Linked DNA regions of Homo sapiens: all the other regions are linked to region 3. Evidence: promoter capture Hi-C in human tissues and cell types (Jung and others, 2019). All regions are on one chromosome and are shown on one strand. The core of a region is centred on a gene start or on the middle of the fragment in contact, and the rest is flanking DNA. Distances in the headings are between cores, read along the strand shown.

Region 1 (3,524 bases), core at 680-3,179, 140 kb after region 3:
ATTCTAGAAACCAGTCCTTTATCAGACAATGCATTTTGCAAATATTTTTTCATGATCTGTGATTTGTCTTTTCATTTTCTGAACAGTGCCTTTTGAAGAGCAGAAGTTTTATACTTTTAGCTTTTATATGTATATATGTATTTATATGTATTTAACCCATTTGGGGTTAATTTTTTTTTTTCTTTTTTTTGAGACAGAGTCTTGCTGTCGCCCAGGCTGGAGTGCAATGGCACGATCTCGGCTCACTGCAACCTCCACCTCCCAGGTTCAAGTGATTCTCCTGCCCCAGCTTCCCAAGTAGCTGGGATCACAGGCGCCTGCCACCATGCCTGGCTAAGTTCTTTGTATTTTTAGTAGAAACGGGGTTTCACCACGTTGGCCAGGCTGGTCTCAAACTCCTGACCTTGTGATCCGCCCACCGTGGCCTCCCAAAGTGCTGGGATTACAGGCATGACCCACTGCACCCAGCCAGGGTTAAATTTTATATATGGTAAGAGGTAAAAATAGAAGAGGGCATGGGGTTCCCCCTGAGCCTCCTGGAGCCCAGCCATGAGCACTTATGTGGCCACTGCGCATAGATACCACCAGCTTCTCACGTGAGTATCTCTATCCCTCAGCAGGTTGTCTGGTCCCTGTGTGGTGACACAGGGATAAGGACAGCATCTACCTCGTGAGTGCCTTCGGGGATTTAGTGGAAAATTATGCATCAGAGTCTCAGTACTGCACCTGGCACACAGAAAGTCTTCAGAAAAAGGATTCTACCTTTTTGTCTTACCCTCAAAATTAGGCCCTAAGTCTGGTTCTGATACATACGAGCTGGGGACCTTGGGCAAGCCAGTGACTTCCACTGTGAGGTCAGTTTCCTCACAGTGTTGCTGGTATGATCAAATAAAAAACTGTGAGGACACCTGAGTAATGCCTGATACAGACGTACTAAATAAATGTAATTATTATAACTAGACTTTCATAGCCCCAAATCATCTACATAAAGCAACTAGAACTGTTAATTTGGCAAACTAACAGGATACAAGGTCAATATAAAAAAATCACATGTATTTTTGGAATAAAACTAGAAATCAATAATGAGGAATTCTGGAAACTATACAAACACAGAGACATTAAACAACATGCTCCTGAATGAAGTGGGTCAATGAAGAAATGAAGGAAATTGAAAAATTTATTGAAACACATGATAATGGAAGTACAACATACCAAAACCTATGGGATGCAGCAAAAGCAGTACTAAGAGGGAAGTTTATAGCTATAAGTGCCACATCAAAAAAGAAGAAAATGCTTCTGTGGGGGCCTGAATTTAAAAAAAATAAAAAAAGAAGAAGAAAAACTTCAAGTAAACAACTTAATGATGCATCCTAAAGAAACAGAAAAACAAGAGCAGGCCGGGCGCGGTGGCTCACACTGTAATCCCAGCACTTTGAGAGGCCAAGGCGGGCAGATCACAAGGTCAGGAGATCAAGACCAGCCTGGCCAACATGGTGAAACCCCATCTCTACTAAAAAAACAAAAATAAGCTGGGCATGGTGGCACCTACCTGTAGTCCCAGCTACTCGAGAGGCTAAGGCAGGAGAATCGCTTGAACCCAGGAGGCAGAGGTTGCAGTGAGCCGAGATTGTGCCACTGCACTCCAGCCTGGGCGACAGAGCAAGGCTCCATCTCAAAATTAAAAAAAAAAGAAAAGAAAGGAAAGAAAAGAAATAACAAAAATCAGAGCAGAAATAAATGAATATGAAATAAAAAAAATACAAAAGATTGGTTTTGTGAAAAGAAACAAAAAGTTGGTTTTTTGGAAAGGTAAACAAAATGACAAACCTTTAGCCAGACTAAGAAAAAAAGAGAGAAGACCCAAATAAATAAAATCAGAGATGACAAAGGAAACACTACAACTGATATTACAGAAATTTAAACAATCATCGGTGGCTACTATGGGCAACTACATGCCAATACATTAGAAAATCTAGAGGAAATGGACAAATTCCTAGATACATGCAATCTACCAAGATTGAACCATGAAGAAATTCAAAACAAACAGACCAATAACAAGTAACAACAACTGAAGCCATAATAAAAAGTCTCCCAGCAAAGAAAAGGCCGGGACCCAATAGCTTCACTGCTGAATTCTACCAAACACTTAAATAACTAATACCAATCCTACTTAAACTATTCAGAAATATACAGAAGGAAGGAATACTTCCAAACTCATTCTATGAAGCCAGTATCACCGTGATACCAAAACCAGACAAAAACACATTGAAAAAAAGAAAAGAAAACTATAGGCCAATATCATTGATAAATATTGATTCCTAAAATCCTCAACAAAAGATTAGCAAATTGAATTCAACAACACATTAAAAAGATCATCCAGCATGACCAAGTGGGACTTATCCCAGGGATTCCAGGATAGTTCAGCAAATGCAAATCAATTAATGTGATATATCATATCAACAGAATGAAGGACAAAAAACATATGATTATTTCAATTGGTGCTGAAAAGGTATTTGATAAAATTCAATATCCTTTCATGATAAAAACCCTCAAAAAACTGGGTATGGAAGGAACATACCTCAACATAATAAAAGCCATATATGACAGACCTATATATGGCTAGTATCATACTGAATGGGGAAAAACTGAAAGCCTTTCCTCTAAGACCGGGAACATGACAAGAATGCCTACTTTCACCACTGTGATTCAACATAGTACTGGAAGTCCTCGCTAGAGCAATCAGACAAGAGAAAGAAAGAAAGAGCATCCAAATTAGAAAGGATTAGAAGTCAAATTATCCTTGTTTGCAGATGACATGATCTTATATTTGGAAAAACCTAAAGATTCCACCAAAAAACTACTAGAACTGATAAAGTCAGCAAAGTTGCAGGATACAAAATCTGAAAAAAACAGGAACAATCCTGAAAAAAACAGGAACAATCTGAAAAAAAATTAAGAAAGGAATCCCATTTAAAATAGCTACAAATAAAATAAAATACCTAAGAATTAACCCAAGTGAAAGAGCTCTACACTGTAAACTATAAAACACTGATAGAATAAATTGAAGACACAAAAAGTGGAAAGATACTCATTCCATGTCCATGGATTAGAAGAATAAATATAGTTAAAATGTTCATACTACCCAAAGCAATTTACAGATTTAATGCAATCCCTATTAAAATACCAATGACAGGCCAGGTGCGGTGGCTCACGCCTGTAATCCTAGCACTTCGGGAGGCCGAGGCAGGCAGATCACGAGGTCAGGAAATCGAGACCATCCTGGCTAACACAGTGAAACCCCGTCTCTACTAAAAAATACAAAAAATTAGCTGGGCGTGGTGGCGGGCGCCTGTAGTCCCAGCTACTTGGGAGGCTGAGGCAGGAGAACGGTGTGAACCTGGGAGGTGGAGCTTGCAGTGAGCCGAGATCGCGCCACTGCACTCCAGCTTGGGTGACAGAGTAAGACTCCATCTCAAAAAAAAAAAAAAAAAATACCAATGACATTCTTCACAGAAATACAAAAA
Region 2 (3,704 bases), core at 596-3,095, 130 kb before region 3:
TTACCCCTCTAAGCCTGTTTCACTCTCTGCAGAATGAGAGTGGTAACAGTACTTACCTCTTCTGGCTGACTTGAGGGACCCATAATACAATGCCTGCCAGGCACTCCATTCAGTACCTGCCACACAGTAGTCACTTGGCACATGTTGGCTACTATTATCCTGTTCCCAGGCCCCAGGCTCATCCTTTGTTTCCATGTTTGGCTAAACGTCATCTGCCTGGGGCACGTCCTTCTTCCTCTGGCTATTTTTAATTCCATTTCCTCGGAATTCTGGATTCTATATGTGAGTATCAGTGGTTATTTTCAGATCATGTGGGAAGGCCAGGGGTTTAGGGAGATGTGGCAGCTTCTCAGATGAGAGTAACTAGGAATACTGTGTTTATTCTGCAGAACACACTGACCCTGTGCCTCTGCTGGGAGAGTGGCTCACTTTCCATCTCCTGGGGACAGAGTCCAGCTTCATCAGAGTGGCTGGGATGGTGTCTACTGGGAAAGGGCATGGGGACAAGGTGTGGTGGGTACCCCGAAGGCTTCCTGAGAAGCACCAGGACAGGGCAGCAGGCAAGGTGGGAGGGTGGGCAACAGACCCTTGGATGCTCTGCTGTTTTATCCTCACATACTCTCAGGTATGGGGAAAACCAGGTGTGGTAGCCTCGAGAAGACGGGCCTGGGCCCTCTTGGCCCTAGGAGAAAGGACTTTTGGCAGAAGCCCCAGATACAGGACTGGAAATCAAGGCAGACACTATTGGTTGCTTTCCTAATACCTATTCCCTTTGTGCTTAAAAAAAAAAAAAAGATTCATGTGGGGAAAAGCAAGAGAGATCAGATTGTTACTGTGTCTGTGTAGAAAGAAGTAGACATGGGAGACTCCATTTTGTTATGTACTAAGAAAAATTCTTCTGCCTTGAGATTCTATGACCTTACCCCCAACCCCGTGCTCTCTGAAACATGTGCTGTGTCAAACTCAGGGTTAAATGGATTAAGGGCGGTGCAAGATGTGCTTTGTTAAACAAATGCTTGAAGGCAGCATGCTCCTTAAGAGTCATCACCACTCCCTAATCTCAAGTACCCAGGGACACAAAAACTGCGGAAGGCCGCAGGGACCTCTGCCTAGGAAAGCCAGGTATTGTCCAAGGTTTCTCCCCATGTGACAGTCTGAAATATGGCCTCGTGGGAAGAGAAAGACCTGACCGTCCCCCAGCCCGACAGCAAGGGTCTGTGCTGAGGAGGATTAGTATAAGAGGAAGGCATGCCTCTTGCAGTTGAGACAAGAGGAAGGCATCTGTCTCCTGCCCGTCCCTGGGCAATGGAATGTCTCGGTATAAAACCCGATTGTATGCTCCATCTACTGAGATAGGGAAAAACCGCCTTAGGGCTGGAGGTGGGACCTGCGGGCAGCAATACTGCTTTGTAAAGCATTGAGATGTTTATGTGTATGCACATCTAAAAGCACAGCACTTAATCCTTTACCTTGTCTATGATGCAAAGACCTTTGTTCACGTGTTTGTCTGCTGACCCTCTCCCCACTATTGTTTTGTGACCCTGACACATCCCCCTCTCGGAGAAACACCCACGAATGATCAATAAATACTAAGGGAACTCAGAGGCTGGCGGGATCCTCCATATGCTGAACGCTGGTTCCCCGGGTCCCCTTATTTCTTTCTCTACACTTTGTCTCTGTGTCTTTTTCTTTCCTAAGTCTCTCGTTCCACCTTACGAGAAACACCCACAGGTGTGGAGGGGCAACCCACCCCTACAGATTCATTTGTGAATCAGTGTTCTAAGCCAATCATGACTGTTTTAACTTCCTAGCCTCTTGTACTAGACATTTGACCCAATTCAGGCCAATCACTCTTAAAGTGGAAGTCTGCTGGGGGGATTTCTGGAAAAGCTTTTGCTGCCCTGATGAAGAGACAGATACAGTTAGCATGGCCCTAGACATTTCTCTCACCTTTGCTTGCCTCGAGCCCCAGTGTGATGATTAGAGCTATGGCAGCCATCTTGTGCCTATGAGGCCGAAGCATCAGAATAAAAAGGTCAGTATAGGGATGGCAAAGTCAAGTTCCCTCATGCTTGCAACTGCCTGCTTCGAGCTTGTGTTCCATGAAAAACAAAAAAAAACAAAAAAACACACACACAACGAAACACCTATTTGTTTACGTCTCTGTTGATCGGATTTTCTGGGGGTTTTTTTTGTTATTTTTTGCAAGTGAATGTATTCGTAATCAACACAAACAAAGGAAGACAGGGCGCGGTGGCTCATGCCTGTAATTCCAGCACTTTGGGAGGTCAGATCACTTGAGCTCGGGAGTTCGAGACCAGCCTGGGCATCATAGCGAGACTCCCATCTCTATAAAAAAAAATAAGAATATTAGCTGTGCATGGTGGTGCATGCCTGTAGTCCCAGATGAGTTGGGAGAAGTGCTTGAGCCTAGGAGGTGGAGGCTATAGAGAGCTGTGACTGCACCACTGTATTCCAAGATGAGTTGGGAGAAGTGCTTGAGCCTAGGAGGTGGAGGCTATAGAGAGCTGTGACTGCACCACTGTATTCCAGCCTGGGCAACAGAGTGAGACCCGGGTCTCAAAAAAAAAAAACAACCATACCAAACACCATAAAGGCAGAATGATCTGGCCAATCAGGGGCATCACATGCTCAGAGATTTCCACAAATAGTTCCTCAAGATTGCTGCCTACCCAGCCCACTACTGGGCCTTTGTGACATCCGCAAATCAGGCCCAGGCCTTCCCCTCAAGGGGCTCACAGTCCATCAAGAAAAAGAACACAAATTTTGTAACTGGTACAAACTATCACACAACTCTCAGGGTGGAAGAAATCCCTTTACTTTTAAGGATCAAATTAAGGCCTACTCAAGGCCCCACTTGCCAAGGTTGGCAAAAACTACAAGAGTCTAATGGAGAATGGGGTGGGCGAGGAGGGTGGAATAATTAAGGATCAGCCCTGGATCTTAGGAGTTAAACAGCCCTGAAAAACTGAAGGGGAATTTTGTCTTTCACCTTGGACGTTCCTGCTGACCCACCAGTATTAGTTAAATAAAATTAGTTGCTGTAACAAGTAAAGCTCGAAGGCCCACGGCTCTACACGATGAAGATCTATTTCACATCTGTTTCATGTCACAGTCCAACCAGACGGGATGGCAGGCCGGGGAGGCTGCATAGTCACTCAAGCACCCAGGCTCCTTCCGTCTGTGGCTCTGCTGCCCTGTAGGCCTTCAGCGTCCTCTGGCTCAGCTAGGATACTACTGGGAAGGAGAGAGCCTGGGTGGTGCGAGAATTCCATGGCCAGGCCTGGAGTGGTGACATTACTTCCTATCACACTCCATTGGCTGGAACCTGTCATGTGGCCACACCTACCTGCAAGGGGCCCTGGGAAATGGAGTCTCCACATGTGCCCAGGAAGAAGCCAAAACATGGATATCCTGGGCACCACTTGGCCCTTCAGAGGTGGAAGGCAGCGAGGTGCCCACTTACCCTCCTGGGAGGCACCACCATCTCCCAGCTTGGATTCAAGGGAGGGCAGGTCTCCTCCCCTTGAGGAGCCCACAGGCCCCATGATCCATCCAGGGATTCAGCCAGACCGAGGGCTCCCTTCTTCATCTCTGCAAGCACCTGCCTACAGCTCCTCCTCACAGCCCAGCTGGCCAATGTCCTCCATGCACCTGCACCTTCCCGGCATAAAAACCTGAGC
Region 3 (3,829 bases), core at 487-2,986:
ACAGGCAGCCGCCACCACACCCGGCTAATTTTTGTGTTTTTAGTAGAGATGGGGTTTTGCCATGTCGACGAGGCTGGTCTCAAACTCTGACCTCGTGATCCGCCCGCCTTGGCCTCCCAAAGTGCTGGGATTACAGGCATGAGACACCATGCCTGGCCCCTATAAACAGTATTTAAACACCAAGTGAAACCAAATGAAGCCAGGGTCTAATGTGAGAACAAAGCCTTTGTAGTTATTTGAAAAGTGGCAGAAGAGCATCAGGTCATCCCACAGCAAGTGAATCTAATTTGCTTAAACTCAAAAGTGGGTGGGCCACTAACAGTCAAGACCTTCACGTTGTAACAATTCCATTTCAGTAAAACAGTGAAGAGCACATTCATGTTCACCTGAATGTTACTGGAATCGTAATTTTCTTTTAATTTACTTTGTTTTGGTCTTTAATGGTTGAGTAAGAGTTACAAGCCTAGGGGTTTACACCTAGTATCACGTGGATATACAGTGAAGTAACATAATGAAAATAATTTACAGCCTGGGCAACATGGTGAAACTCCATCTCTACAAAAAATACAAAAATTCGCTGGGTGCCATGGCTCATGCCTGTGGTTCCGGTTACTTGGGAGGATGAGGTGGGAGGATGGCTTGAGGCCAGGAGGTTGAGGCTGCAGTGAGCCGAGATCACGCCACTGTACTCCAGTCTGGGTGACAGAGCGAGACCCTCTCTCAAAAAAAATAATAATTTAGGCAAACATAAGGATCAGTGAGACTTTTGTGTTTTTGTTTTTGGTTTTTCCTCTACAGAGTCACTTTGAAAACTCAGGCTACCCTGAAGGCTGGCCAAAAGGATGACAACAATTATTTCCTTTGGTACTGTTAGAACAAAGTCAGTACAAGTGGGTCTAATCATCTGAGGCAACTTCTGTGTTTCTGCTTAGTCTAATGTTTCCCATCGCCACCACTCCCGTCTCAATCTTTTTGAATTGTGGGTTATTCCCAATCATGTCTTTTTTTCCTTCTATCTAAACCTTTGGGGGTGAAAAGTTGGCCCCTTTTACTGCGTCCATCCCGTAGCACTTGGCACAGGGAAGATGATGCTTATCTGTTGAGTTTGCTGAACTAAGGAACTAAAGTGAGTATTACCAACATTAAAGGTGAGAAAACTGAGGCTTAAAGAGATTTAATTTGCTCAAGATCGCTGGGATGAACATTTGAGCCGCTGGACAAGAGTCTGCATTTAGTCTCTAAGCTGGCTTCATTCTTAAGGATATCGCACCTCTCGAGGCTCAAATCGTTTGCTTAACTCATGGAATGTCTCTGTGGTCTTGGGAAAGGCCTCTTCCCGCTCTGGGTCTGAGTTTCCCCATCTGTGAAACGGGGGCGTGCCCCAGAGCGCCAAGGCCTCTTGCAGCTCTGAAACGGCTGAGAGGAGAAGCTGGAGGGAGTATGGGGCCTGGTCCTCTCCTAGGTTCTTACCATTTGATGATGTTGTGAACCAAAGGTAAAAAGGAGTAGTTCTCTTCCTCCCTCGCGCGGGCAGGTGACTGAGGCCGTGGCGCCGGCGACTGCTGCGGTTGAGGCGCAGGGACCGGCGGCGGCTGAGGAGGCGGCAGCGGCTTGGTGTCAGGCAGCGGCTGGTCGGACGTTGGCGGCAATACATCCTCCGCCTGTCGCCCGGCTGCCACCCCAGCAGAGGCCATGGCTCCGGGGGTAGGTTAGCCAGAGGTCGGGTCGCCAAAAGCGTCGCGCACTCTACACGTCACCACCGCGCGCCCTGCAGGGGCGGGGTGTGGAGGAAGGCTCTGAGCGTGCGCACTGGGCAGTCGGCGGGAAAAGGCGCGGAGGCGGGGGTGGGGAGGCTGTTGCTAGGCAACGGGCCGTGGGTGGGTCTGGGGTGCCTGGATTTGGATTGTGAGTCAAGATTGCTAAATTATTAAATAGTGAGAAATAGGGGTTTATTTCAGAAATAACAATCTTTTTTTTTTTTTTGAGACGGAATTTCGCTCTTGTTGCCCAGGCTGGAGTGCAGTGGCGCGATCTCGGCTCACCGCAACCTCCGCCTCCCGGGTTCAAGCGATTCTCCTGCCTCAGCCTCCCTAGTAGCTGGGATTACAGGCATGCACCACCACGCCCGGCTAATTTTATATTTTTAGTAGAGACGGGGTTTCTCCATGTTGATCAGGCTGGTCTCGAACTCCCCACCTCAGGTGATCCGCCCGTCTCGGCCTCCCAAAGTGCTGGGATTACAGGCGTGAGCCACTGCACCCGGCCAGAAATAACAATCTTCTTATTCCTATTCACACGATGAAGAGGGCCCCAAAGCCACAAACACAGGAAGCCTTGAGATTAGTAAGGTGCAGCCTGGCCCAGTGCACCCAAGTCTGGAGAGGAGCCACTGGACCTGTGGGAGGCGTAGACAGCACTTACCTGCTGGGTGAGGCACCAAACCCGGCCCAGCCCACAGTGCAAGACATCGAGACCTCGAGTTTAGCCCTAAGGACGCAGAGGCAAAGGGATTGCGGTCCCTTCAATGCTGCAAGGTTGCTTAGAAAGAGTCTAATAATTCAACTCAACACACATTTAGTATGCACCTGCTGGATGGCCACCTGTATGTGTGGTTGCAGGCAGGCTGTCCTTGCTTTCAGTACAAGGTAGAGGGGATTGGTGCCAGGAGTAAATATCATATCCTGGAAGAACGACAAGGTCAGGTACTCTCCATACCTTCGGGCCAGTTCCCCAAGCCCCTAGGTCCCAGTTTCCTCACCCCTAAAATCATATTTAGTTCAGATTCATGGCACAGCCTAAACTGCATTCTAACTTCACATGCGTGGCTGACCCCAAAAGGTCTTGTTGGCATGAGGACTCCCTAGGATCATAGGCCAAAGATGGGTTTATGGTTATGCTTCTCAAAACAAGTTTGATATGAGGGCTGTGTAGTAATTTTCCGGGCAATGGGGACACCCACCCCAAGCTTAGCTAGTGAGTAGAAGACATGAGTGGGGAAAGCTGTCAACTGGTGAGCCCATTCTGCTGTAATCCACCATCATGGGCAGTACAGAGAGGCGAGGAGGTCCACATCCACATAGCATGATGAACAGGAGCCTTAAGAGCAAGGTGGCCAGGGAAAGGATCAATGCTGATATTTTCAGGCACATTGGGAGGGCTGTGCGGAGGCAGATCCTTGGGGAGTAGGACCATAGATGGAAGTGCTGTTGGAGGGTGCGCTGTACAGGTTCTGTAGTAAAGGGCCTCAGCACAGCTCTCTGCAGCAAGAGCTGCCCACGGTGCCCCAGAGAGAGAGCAAAGGGAGGGAGTGGGTTGCGGAGTTTTCTTCCTTCTAACCATTGACCTCTCCAACTAAGGGAAAGTTCAAGAGTTCTGGTTGAGCATGGAGGAGAAAAAGGCCAGATGTGCTTGAAGAGACTGTATACCCTTGGAGTCATCTGGGGAAAGATGATATAGTAATAGTAATAATAATAGTAATTACCACAACTACCATGGAGTAAAAGTAGATACAGGGAACAGAGTTACAGTCACTGTCTCAATCCACAGACAGAGGTCTAGAAGATGGATGTCAGGATCCCCATTTTCTAGATGAGAAAACCAAGACTTACAATGGTTAAGATCCCAGCCTAAGGGTCAACGCAGTTGCTGATGCCAAGTCTATGATCTTAACCAACACTAAAGAGACTTCGGATCCCTACCAGTTCTGTAACTTTATGATTCAAAATGTTAAAGTGGGTTTGAATTCAGAATTCAAAAACCAATCCAATATTCATCAATAATATCCCCATGGCAATCACACGTCATCTTTGCCCTCCCAGAGTGTTTTATA

What was found. The method cuts DNA at HindIII sites, captures the fragments that hold promoters and counts their contacts. A contact is called where the count stands out against the background at its distance.
Region 1: a fragment that was not itself captured here is called in contact with the fragment with the promoter of MED9 in region 3 in 1 of the 25 tissues and cell types used here (liver).
Region 2: a contact is called between a fragment that was not itself captured here and the fragment with the promoter of MED9 in region 3, in 4 of the 25 tissues and cell types used here (IMR-90 fibroblasts, liver, lymphoblastoid cells and 1 more).

Annotation. Positions count from the first base shown.
Region 1 is chr17:17,338,695-17,342,218 of GRCh38, reverse strand. All of the region lies in intron 3 of NT5M (5',3'-nucleotidase, mitochondrial), which reads right to left. Among named protein-coding and RNA genes, the nearest start is that of NT5M, 37 kb to the right of the region's middle. The HindIII fragment of the contact is 7,733 bases long and covers 1-3,524 here.
Region 2 is chr17:17,608,981-17,612,684 of GRCh38, reverse strand. No RefSeq gene overlaps it. Among named protein-coding and RNA genes, the nearest start is that of PEMT, 19 kb to the right of the region's middle. The HindIII fragment of the contact is 8,912 bases long and covers 1-3,704 here.
Region 3 is chr17:17,474,907-17,478,735 of GRCh38, reverse strand. MED9 (mediator complex subunit 9) reads right to left here and starts at 1,736. Exons shown (of 2, transcript NM_018019.3): 1 at 1,471-1,736. The coding sequence starts at 1,694. RefSeq lists an enhancer at 1,633-1,732. The HindIII fragment of the contact is 13,264 bases long and covers 1-3,829 here.